Linked DNA regions of Homo sapiens: all the other regions are linked to region 2. The links are contacts of gene promoters, found by promoter capture Hi-C in human tissues and cell types (Jung and others, 2019). All regions are on one chromosome and are shown on one strand. Each heading gives the region's core, a stretch centred on a gene start or on the middle of the fragment in contact. The rest is flanking DNA. Distances are from core to core; before and after follow the strand shown.

Region 1 (2,700 bases), core at 149-2,648, 460 kb after region 2:
ATGCAAACATTGAGTTCTTAATTTTCAGTTACTGTATCTTAACTCATTTATTAATATATAATTCATATATAATATAAATCATACATCATATAATAATTCACCTATTTAAAGTGTACAATCAATAGATTTTAGTAAATTCACAGAGTCATATAACCACCACTACAATTAATTTTATAACATTTTTATTATCAAAAAAGAAAACCCATACCCATTAGCAGTCATTCACCGTCTTCTCCCAACTCTCCAACCTCTGAGCCCCACTAATCTGCTTTCTATGTCTCTATATATTTGCTTTTTCTGGAAATTACACATAAACAATCATAAAATACGTGATCTTTTGTGACTGGATTTTTTCACTTTGCATAATTTTTCTCAAGTTCATCTGTCTTACAGCATGTGTCAGTACTTTATTTTTGCTGAATAATACTCAATTTTATCGATATACCACATTTGGTTTATATATTCATCAGTTAATTGACATTTGGGTTGTTTCCACTTTTTGGCTTTTATAAATAATATTGCTATAAACATTCCCGGACAAATGTTCATATGAACATAACTTTTATTTCTATTGGATATACACCTAGGAATGGAATTGCAGAGTATTATGATTTGACTTTTTGAGAACCTCCTGGACAGTTTCCGTACAGACTGTACCGTTTTACATTCCCATCAGCAGTATATGAGAGTTCCAATTTCTCCATATCATCACTAATTCTCACGTGTTATTATCTTTCTTTTTATTATAGCTATCTTAGTAGGTGTGAAGTGGCAGTTGTATTTTATAGTTTGGAATTTCTTTTTCATTAAAAGAATAGTTTTCAGTTCTCTCCTGATATTCTCTATTATGGCATCTAATTTCTTGAACAGCTATTTGAAAGTCCACGTGGGATAATGCAATACATGAACTTCCTGTTGCCTGTTTCTATTATGTATTTATGTATATTATGTGTATATATATATATATATATATATATATATATATATATATATATATTAGCTCTGGTCATGTGGGCTTTTCCTCAGTATCTCTAGCAATTTTGGATTGAATGCTGGACATTGTTGTGAATAATCACAAATGCTCTGAATGATTTTATCTTCTATAGAGGTCTAAATATTATTTTTGGCAGGCAGTTAGAGTAGTGACAGATTACCAGACTCAAATACGTGATTGATTTTATTTGAAACTTGGCAATATACTTTGTGAGAGCTTGTCTTTTCTAGTTTACCTCTGCTCCTGAGGTGTAGCTTTCTAGGATTTCCAACTTACAGGCTGGCATATTTATCAAAGGCCTGCCTCCTTGGTAAGCAAATCAGAAATAAAATTCTAAGACCCCAATTATCTGAATGAATTCCTCCTCTCAACCAACAGCATTCCAAAGTTAACCTGAATAACTAGTTCAGGCCATGATAGGAAGTGGGAGTTGGACATGCCTAATTTTACCTCCTGTCTTTTGGAATTCAGGAAAAGCCAACCAACATTCACATCAACACAGACTTTAAGTCTGTTAAGAAACATTTACAGTCTATTCTCTCTGAAGTCAGCTACCTGGAGTCTTCAGCTGAAAGATAAAACTTTGGTCTCCACAACCCCTTATTGTAACACAGACATTCCTTTCTACTGATGCCAGGTGTTTAGATAATTTCACTCTTTCAAGCAATTGCCAATCACAAAATCTTTAACTGTTCCTATGACCTGGGAACCCCCACTTTGAGTTGTCTTGCTTTGCACATTGAATCAATGTACATCTTACATGCATTGATTGATGTATTATGTCTCACTAAAACGTATAAAAATGCAAGCCGTACCACAAGCACCTTGGGAACATGTCATCAGGATCTTTCAAGGCTGTGTCATGAGCATGTCCTTAACCTTGGTGAAATAAACTTTCTAAATTGATTGATGCCTGTCTCAGATACGTTTGGGTTTACAACCCTTAACTCTAATTTTTGTCCCCAAAAAATTGCCAATAGTTCTGTGTAGCTACTTCACCTTGCAGTTGACATTGCTGCTCAGCCTCAAGGGTGTTAGAGGCACAGTGTACTATTAGGTTTACCTCTCTGTGTTTCTCATCTTTCCAGGAGCATGGCATCTCAAGTCTTAACTGCCTTGGTGGTTCTCTGATGCTTCACATACAAACACACGTACACAAAACTGTTTCTTTTTCTTCTTCTCCTTTTCCTTCTACTCTTATACCTCTAGCTTCCACTCCTCCTCTGTCCCTCCTCCTTTTTATTAATTACCCAGCTTTTTGTACTTATTCTCAGTGGTGGGGTTGGTATACAACAACCTAATTCATCATTACAGGAAGCCTTCCATGCACTTGGATCCATTTTTGTATTTTCTATTCGGTTCCATTAGTCTATCTAGTCATGCCCTATTGCCACCCTGTTTTAATTATCGAGGCTTTAATAATACATTTGTTATCTGATAGGGTTAGTGCATGAGTGCATGTTTGTGTACACATGCATATACACACACACAGCTCTTTTTAGTGTTTCCCAGTTATCTTGTCTGTTTATGCTTCCAAATAAACAGTATAATCAAGTTCTTTAACTCCAGAAAAAAATATAATATGTATATTAAGATAAGGTTAAATTTGTAAATTTACTTAGGAACAACTGGCATTTTTCTAACATTTACTATTTCTATTCAAAAACATCTACTCGAGTTTACTCTATGCACTTCAGGAGATATAA
Region 2 (2,700 bases), core at 129-2,628:
CACAAGCCCCTCCACAGCCTAGCCCACCCTTATTTTTTGCTATAAGCATTCCTGACCCCTAGGTTTCTGGCAGTCAGAGTGGACAGTCCCCTCTCTCTGCCTTGTCCCATGGCCATCCATCCCAATATTAAAAAAAAAAAAATCTCCAAGCCATTTGGTACTGTTGTTCCCTCCATCTAGAATTCTCTGGCCCATGAGGTCAGATCCTGTCCATTCCCCAACACCCAGCTCGAATGCCACGCCCTCACGGGTTGGAGGAGAAGGGGGTTAGTCAGGAGCAAGCCCTTCTCAGAAATCCTACAGTTCTTTGCCTGAACCTATTTTGGGACATTAATCTCTTCCTACCCGCTCTGTGAGTGATTTTTGTTGTTGTTTAAGAGTTATCTTTGCCCTTAAGAGTTATTTTTGTCCTCGTTTTACGGATGGGATTTGGGTTCCTCCAGGTAAGACCTACCCTCCTCCACCCCCAAATCCTCCTGGTACCTGGATGTAGCCTAAGAAGAATTGTCCTATGAACGAAGAATAAATTAAGATTGGGTTTGCAATTGACGCCAGCAGAAGCAGAAATGGGCTAGGTTGAGCACCAGGCAAGACAAGCTGACGATCAGGGTACACATCTTGAATCAGAAACCCTGGGCACAGACCAGCAGTCTGCGTGGTAACAGGCCCTCCGAGTGATTCTGATGACACTCGAGTTTGAGAACCAGGGCGGTCTAGCCAAAAGCCTGCAGTACACCCCTTCCCCTCTCTCGCAGCTTACGACCTTGACCCTGGGCTCTGGGGGCTTCCGCCGAGGAGGGAGGAGGGCACAGGCGGTCACAAAGGAGGGCGGGAGTGGAAGGGGTGAGCCTGGAAGAGAAAGTGCGAGGATGCGAGAAGAGGGATGGAGCGAAGGAAGAGGATCAGAAGGAGGAAAGGAAGGTAGCGGGGAGGGCACAGAAGTGGGGAGGGAGGGAGTGGAGGAGGGACTGGCACCCCGCACGGTGGCATCTTCCAGAAGGTCATGCGTCCGTCCCCACGTCTTTCCAGGGCCGGTTCTCCCCGGTGGGGCCCGGGGTCTTGGAGACCAGTCTGTGCAGCCTGCCCGGCACCAGCGTGAGCCCCGGGACCCCGGCCTGGCGTCCCCCACGCCCGCGCCCCCGCGCCAGTACCTGCTCCTGCTGCGGGGGGGCCTCCAGCACCGGCGCTGCCTTCCGCGCCGCCGTCCCCGCGGCCATGCCTGAGCCACTGTGCCTTCTCCAGGGCACAGCGCCTGCCGGGGAGGGTCCCGCAGAGTCCGCAGAAGGAGGCGCCGCGGGGCCTCGGGAGCCGAGGGTGAGAGCCGGATCTGCGGCGGCGGCGGAGCGGCGGCCCTGCCCGGGTTGTGCGGGGCGGGAGATGGGAGCCTCCCGGCACGCCCCGCCTCCGCCCCCTGCACGCTGGCCAGCGTCCTCCCCAGCAGCGGCCTCGAGGTCCCGGTCGCCAGCACCCCGGTTCCTTCAGAACCTCAGGCCTCCCATTCAGCCAGCCATTGTCGCCGATAAAGCGTCTTGAGCCCTACCGGGTGCGTGTGGCGGGAACCCCGGTTTTGTTACCGGGCGGCAGGACTGGAGGAGGGGTCAGAGGTGGGTAGGGAGAGAGAGGGGAGTAGAGGAGTGAGAAATGGCGGTGGGGGGGCGAGGGGTGCTGGGGAGGAAGAGAAGAGAGAGAGAGAGTTTCCTCTCCCTCAGAGGTGTTTATTAGGAGGCAGGAGTTCGGGTGGCTGTGCAGATACAGACTTTCCTCAGTTATCTGTGCTTCCTCCAAAGATGATGAAGGAGAGAAACTCCAATCTAGGGAGAGCGCAGACCATCTTGGCCCCTATGCTGCTCCAGGCCATGCAGGGCCCCTGCGACGCAAGCATCTTGCCTTTGCCCCTCTACCTCCAGGGTCTCCCCTCCCGCCTTTACAACTTAGGCCTAAGCCTGGCTTCAAGGTTGAGAACAAGCTGGAACGTTTAGGCAAGCCTTTAGAAATACCTGGGTGTTGATTTGGGGAAACAGAAAAGAGGAGCACAGAATTAGATGATGTGTCCTACGAAATACAGCTTACCCCTTTCCAGTTTGTGATGGCTCGTATTTGTCAACACCTACAAAGGAGGTGAACAGACCAAGATGGACATTTCTCTGCCATTGTGGAACGTAGAGCCTAACAGGGGATAGAGAAAAATAAGCATCTAAGTACAATTTATCACGGATGGTGCCTTGGTTTTCCAGCCTTAACTGGGCATCAGAATCCTATGGAGGAATGCTGAGTTTGTTAAAACTCAGAGTGCTGGCCAAGCACAGTGGCTGATGCCTTTAATCCCAGCACTTTGGGAGGACAGGGCGGGCGGATTGCTTGAACCTAGGAGTTTGAGACCAGCCTAGGCAACATGGTGAAGCCCCATCTCTATAAAATATACAAAAGTGAGCTGGGCGTGGTACACCTGTAGCCCCAGCTACTCAGGAGGTTGAGGCTGGAGGATCGCCGGAGCCCGGGAGGTTCAGGCTGCAGTAAGCCGTGATGGAACCACTGCACTTCTGCCTGGACAACAGAGCGAGACTCTATCAAAAAACAAAACAAAAATCTTCAGATTGCTGGAGTTGAGCCCTAGAGTTTTTAATATAGTAGGTCTAGGGTGGAGCCTGAGCATTTGTCTTTTGAACAAGTTTTCAGGTGCCGCTGGGGCTGTTACCTACA
Region 3 (2,700 bases), core at 90-2,589, 450 kb before region 2:
CCAGGGCAACCATCAGCTTGCAGAAGTCACCAGATGTGTCCGAAATAATGTCCTTCTCCAGATCAGTCTTGTACATTTCCTTGTAGACTCTGTTAATTTCCTGCAGCTCTTGGTTGGTTCTTGAGCAGATGATCTCAATGAGGGAGTCCTTGTTGGTTCCCAGCCCCTTCATGGAAGATTTTAGCTCAGAAGCATCATACTGAGCAGGTGTCTTTAATAGGCCCAAAGCCACTATCTAGGTGGCCAGATAAGGCTGACTTAAGTGCTGATACAAGTTCCTTTTTGGTCCTTCTCTGGTAGGTGAAGGCAATATCCTGTCTCTGTGCATTGCTGTGGTTAGTCAAAATGTTGACAGTGGTGATCTCATCCACACCTTTGGTCTTGATGGCCATTTCAATGTTCAAAGCATCCTGCTCAGCATCAAATTTGGTGTAGGCTTTGACTGACCCAAATGCACTTGGGAGTGTAGAGTGTTCACCCTCCAAGCTGAGCTTGCACAGGATTTCATGAACAGCAGATATTTTGAAGGAAGCTGGGCTGGGCACCAAGACCTGAGAGCGTCCCCAGATGCTGAGCTGAAAATATATTATTTTATGCCCCTCTCCCCTGCCCCACCTCTGCAAACTACCACCTTTCCTCCCTAAAATATATGAGGAGGGAGGTCGTGCTAAGTTGGCATCTTAGGTCATTATAGGACCTTCACCCCATCCTTGAGAATCTCATCCTTGGGAACTCTTCTTGCATTTCAAGTGGAAAAAGATGCAACTAATATTGACTAAGTGCTAGGCACTATGCTGTGTTATAGGGTGCAATGGTGTACAGGACAGATGTTGCTCCTGCCCTCAAGCAACTTACAGTGTAGTGAAGGATACAGACAGTTAAATAAAGTATCATGTGTTAAAGGATGGGGTTTTCTAAAGGATTTTAAAGAGAAAACATGATTCATGTGAGCCCAAAATGTAATTATCTTCACCACCAAAACCCAGAAGAAGCCATGTGTGTATTGGGGAAAAAAGTGTTATGTAAAGGATCAGGAGAACCAGGTTTTATTCTTCCCCCTGTCTCTGATGATCTCGGTAATGTGTCTAGCTTCAACTTTCTCATCTATAAAATGGGGATGATAATGTTTGTCCTGCTATCTCATGGGATGGTATGTGAGAAAATGTACATGAAAGTGCTATAAATATAATTGAACATTTTGTTTTCCAGTGATACAATGGGGGTTGTAATTTACTCACTCATTAATAACTTATTCATGCACTTTTTCATCCAGCAAACATTTGTTAAGCACCTACTTGATTGAAGATCCTGTGTTAGATCTTACACTTGGCTCAGTTTCATCTTGTTGCATGATTCCATTCAAAACATCTAGATTTATTTAGCATTAACTTCTTTTTTTTTTTTTTTTTTGAGATGGAGTCTTGCAGGCTGAAGTACAGTGGCATGATCTCAGCCCACTGCAACCACTGCCTCCTGGGTTCAAACAATTCTCCTGCCTCGGCCTCCTGAGTAGCTGGGATTACAGGCATGCGCCACCATGCTCAGCTAATTTTTTGTATTTTTAGTAGTAGGGATGGGGTTTCATTATGTTGGCCAGGCTGGTCTTAAATTCCTGACCTCAAGTGATCCACCCACCTTGGCCTCCCAAAGTGCTGGGATTACAGGTGTAAGCCATTGTGCCCGGCCAGCATTAATTTCATATTAAGTTGGAGTGGGTGGTGAGAGGAAATCTGCATTTATTGATCCCCTATTTCAGTCTAAGGGTTCACCTTATGTAATCTTCCTGGAGGGGTAGGTGGAAGTGACCAGGAAGAATATGGGTGAGAAGCTGTTGAATTAAAAATTCATTTTGTGCTTCATAGGCTAGACTTGCATCTGGAAAAACAAAATGATTTAATTATGGAATTATAGAATAATTGTTAAATTGATTATAATTACTTTAAAAATTCTTGTTATTCATTCTACTAGCTAATATGTAACCATCAAATGAAATCTTTTACATTAAAGTAGATAGAAAAATATTTTATAAGTATTATATGTGTTTTGTGTTATTTATATTTGTTATGAAAGAACTAGTTTTTATTATATATTTAGAATACTTTAGAGAGAGAGAAGAGACTTTCTACAAATGAAACAGAATTTACTGAAAAGCTTGAAGAGTAAGGCATGATCCCAAATTATTTCTAACTTCTGGAATTGCCTTAAGACACTTTACAAACACTTGAACATTGCAGCATAATGACAATCTACTGTAGTGCTGCATCACCATCAAGATATTTCTAGTTTAACTGTTGGTGAAAATAGTTGGCATCAATTGTCTTCCCAAGTATATGCTAGTGGTGTCCTTTTAATCTTCAGGAGTAACACACTGATTCTGCTGTGCTTTCAGGTAGAGTTTAAAAAATAATAATAATCAATAATCTCCAATACGACAAAAGAGGACCGTAAGAATCAGGAGATGTTACCAGGAATCCCAACCAGCCATTCAGAAACCAAGCCATAGAGCTTAAAGAAAAGATTTTTTAAAAACAAATATTGCAAAATAAAAATGGTAGTGCCTGTTTCGTTTAGCTTCTTTCAAAAATATATAAGCAATGTTAGACAAACAGACATTCCTCTGACCTTGTGATTTAATTTACATGTGGGCAACAGACTTGAGCTCTCCTTAAATTCAAACCAAGAATAAGAGCTGGGCCAACA
Region 4 (2,700 bases), core at 150-2,649, 450 kb after region 2:
CAGGAATATAGAAGCAGGGAGTGCGTAGGGAAGATGAGAGTGGCAGGGAACTAAATCTTGAGAAAGCACAGAACTCAACAGACATAGACCGAAAACCTTGTTTGTTATTAAATCTTACATTAGATTGAACAAGTGAAACTCCATCCCTGAGAAAGCTCACCTGTGAACTGGGCAATTTCAGTGCAGTTTTTTTTTTTCTTAGAGTTATTAATAAGATGAATTGAGATAATGCCAATGCCTTTTGGAAATAAGAACCAAACAAATGCAAGGTGGCCTGGAAAATTGTCTCCAAAAAAAGGCAGTGAGACCCCCATGAAACATTTTTAACTATATTTTTCAAAATTGCTTTTGTTTTCAAAGATTTACAACTTCAGGGAGACAAAGGAAACTCCAGCTCATCTCCCACATCATTGATTGAGAGGACCATTTTCTGACTGTCTGCACACGTAAGTACCTTGCTTTCACTAGTTAGAAGCTCTTGCACTCCAGTCCTTACCTCCTGATGCACTTTGTTCCTTATATTCTGTCTGTGATTAATGTAGGTAACTTCCAGCTACACCTGTCACATTTTAATCTAAGCTAAAGGGAGAACTATAGCCTAAAGGCACTGTAGGTAATTTCATGAACTTGTTTCTGAAAGATAGAGAATGACTGAGTAATGGAAAAATTGTGAGATCCTTCTGTTTCAACTCAGTGCATTACCAAATTGAGTGCTGGAGGAAGATCCCAAGGAAAGGAGAAAGAAGGACCAATTAGGGAGAAATCATAAATACTTGAATAGTTAGATAAGCTTCCCATTAATTAGAGAAAAAAATTAGTTATGAAGAGATAAAGGAAAATTATGAAGGAGAGCAGAGAAAAAGCACCATGCGAGGAAGCTTGTAATTAAAAACAGAATGAATGAAAACAGATCACAATTGGCTAAGTGGATGAAAAGAGAGGAATGGAAAAATAACATAGTTTTAACAAATGACAATGATAGAGGTAAAGACTCCTCCAACAAAAAGCAAGGATTAAAAAAAAAGAGATAATCTTCAAAGCAAAAAGAGACCCAAAAGGCTACCTGAAACTGAATGACAGAAACAAGAAAGAAAAAACCTGAAAGGGGGAAAAAAGACAAAACATACAGGAGAAGTAAGTAGACCCAGAAACACACATAAGAAAACATTATAAAACAGACCTATCTTATTCAAACATTAATGAAAGAATGAAGCTCTGAGAGTAATAAAATATTAATTATTATTCCACTACCTGCTAGTCTGTCTCTGCTGGCAGCTTTAGCATATCTACTTGTTTGAGTGACAACCTCCTGTCTTTGCTATTTCTCGCACTTTTTAAAGTCCCTCTCCCCAGGGGAGAACCTATTTTACTCTTATAGAACCTGTATAAATAATGGGCCAAGAAATCTTGTGTTTTGAAGATTGACTGAGAAAAAAAATTTCCAAAATGTTCTCCAAGTTGAAAAAGATGTAGAAGCCTTAGACCAAATAGTAGGTCAGTACCCAGAATATTCCCAAATAGATTTGTATCTGTAATTGGAAATAATGGCAATTTCTAGGGTTATTTGAGGACAAAATGAGATTATACACTTAGAGCATGTCTGGCATCTAGTACACACACAATAAATATTAGCTGTTATTGTAAGCATGGACACTCATTTTTATCAGATGGTGGGCCAAACCCTGTTGGACTGTGACATACTTATTGCTTCTTCCTGGGTCTCTCAACCCAAGTGAGAAGTCAGCAAAGAAATCATTCGGGAAACCCTCTGTTTTTGTTTGTTTGTTTGTTTGTTTTTAATACCATAATTAGATTAACTAATGCTTGTTCCATTATTTCCTATGAACAATCCAAGTTTTTTCTTTCAGGAAGCTGTGCCCTGTGGTCAGGGCCAGACATGTTTCTGTGCTTTTCCTCTCCACCTGCTTCTCCCCTGTGATGCAAAGGCAAAGGGGCTGTGGGTGTGGCTGAGTGCTCAGGAGGGCACCGCCCAGTGAGGTCAGTGAGTGTCAGTGACTCACGTCCGCCTAGAATTGCCCCCACCAGGGCCTTGCTGAGTCTTCTCCCTGCTGCTGGGAATTTTGTCCCACCTTTATGTAGATGTGCGTTACTGAGTTTATCTGCATAGGAAAGGATGTGAGCTCTGAGTTCCCGGACTCTTCCTCCTCTCAGGTTCCTTAGAATGATTTAGGAGTAGGATTCTGAGCATCTTGGGGAGCTCTCCTGGGGGGTCTAATCGCCCATGTCTCAGGGACATGGGAAGGCCTAACAATCAAAGTGCACTTGGTGCTAGACATAGAAGTGGGAAGAAAGTGGAGAACAAATGAACAGGAGGCTGGCTATCTGGATATCTGGATGAGGGGCTCGAAGGACCATAGAGACCACCCAACCCATGGGATAGACAAAGAACGGGCAGTGTCCAGAAGCGGAACTGGAAAGTCCCCTATACCCACATGGCCCACCCGTGCTAGATTTTCAATCCCTGGATTCAACACTGCCACTGTCAAATATGTTATTTCTGGGAGATTCTCTGACCTCACTTATGCTTAGTTTCTTCATATATATAGTGGGAATTTTATAACTCATTTGTCAGTCTTTTCCTGGAATAAAAACAAATGAGATACAGAAATGCTTTGCAAGCAGATGAACTAAATAAACACATCCAGAGAACTGGCAAACTGTACTGCTCCTTCCTACCCA

What was found. The method cuts DNA at HindIII sites, captures the fragments that hold promoters and counts their contacts. A contact is called where the count stands out against the background at its distance.
Region 1: a fragment that was not itself captured here is called in contact with the fragment with the promoter of RNF175 in region 2 in 2 of the 25 tissues and cell types used here (H1 embryonic stem cells and neural progenitor cells).
Region 3: a fragment that was not itself captured here is called in contact with the fragment with the promoter of RNF175 in region 2 in 1 of the 25 tissues and cell types used here (aorta).
Region 4: a fragment that was not itself captured here is called in contact with the fragment with the promoter of RNF175 in region 2 in 2 of the 25 tissues and cell types used here (dorsolateral prefrontal cortex and liver).

What each region holds. Positions count from the first base shown.
Region 1 is chr4:154,223,153-154,225,852 of GRCh38, forward strand. The region is part of intron 12 of LOC101927947 (a long non-coding RNA gene); the gene reads left to right. Among named protein-coding and RNA genes, the nearest start is that of DCHS2, 270 kb to the right of the region's middle. The HindIII fragment of the contact is 8,820 bases long and covers 1-2,700 here.
Region 2 is chr4:153,758,646-153,761,345 of GRCh38, forward strand. RNF175 (ring finger protein 175) reads right to left here and starts at 1,379. Exons shown (of 9, transcript NM_173662.4): 1 at 1,152-1,379. The coding sequence starts at 1,217. The HindIII fragment of the contact is 12,933 bases long and covers 1-2,700 here.
Region 3 is chr4:153,308,242-153,310,941 of GRCh38, forward strand. The region is part of intron 6 of TRIM2 (tripartite motif containing 2); the gene reads left to right. It also overlaps the pseudogene ANXA2P1. Among named protein-coding and RNA genes, the nearest start is that of MND1, 35 kb to the right of the region's middle. The HindIII fragment of the contact is 6,924 bases long and covers 1-2,700 here.
Region 4 is chr4:154,206,608-154,209,307 of GRCh38, forward strand. It overlaps LOC101927947 (a long non-coding RNA gene), which reads left to right. Exons shown (of 15, transcript XR_007058336.1): 12 at 361-446. Among named protein-coding and RNA genes, the nearest start is that of DCHS2, 280 kb to the right of the region's middle. The HindIII fragment of the contact is 4,839 bases long and covers 1-2,700 here.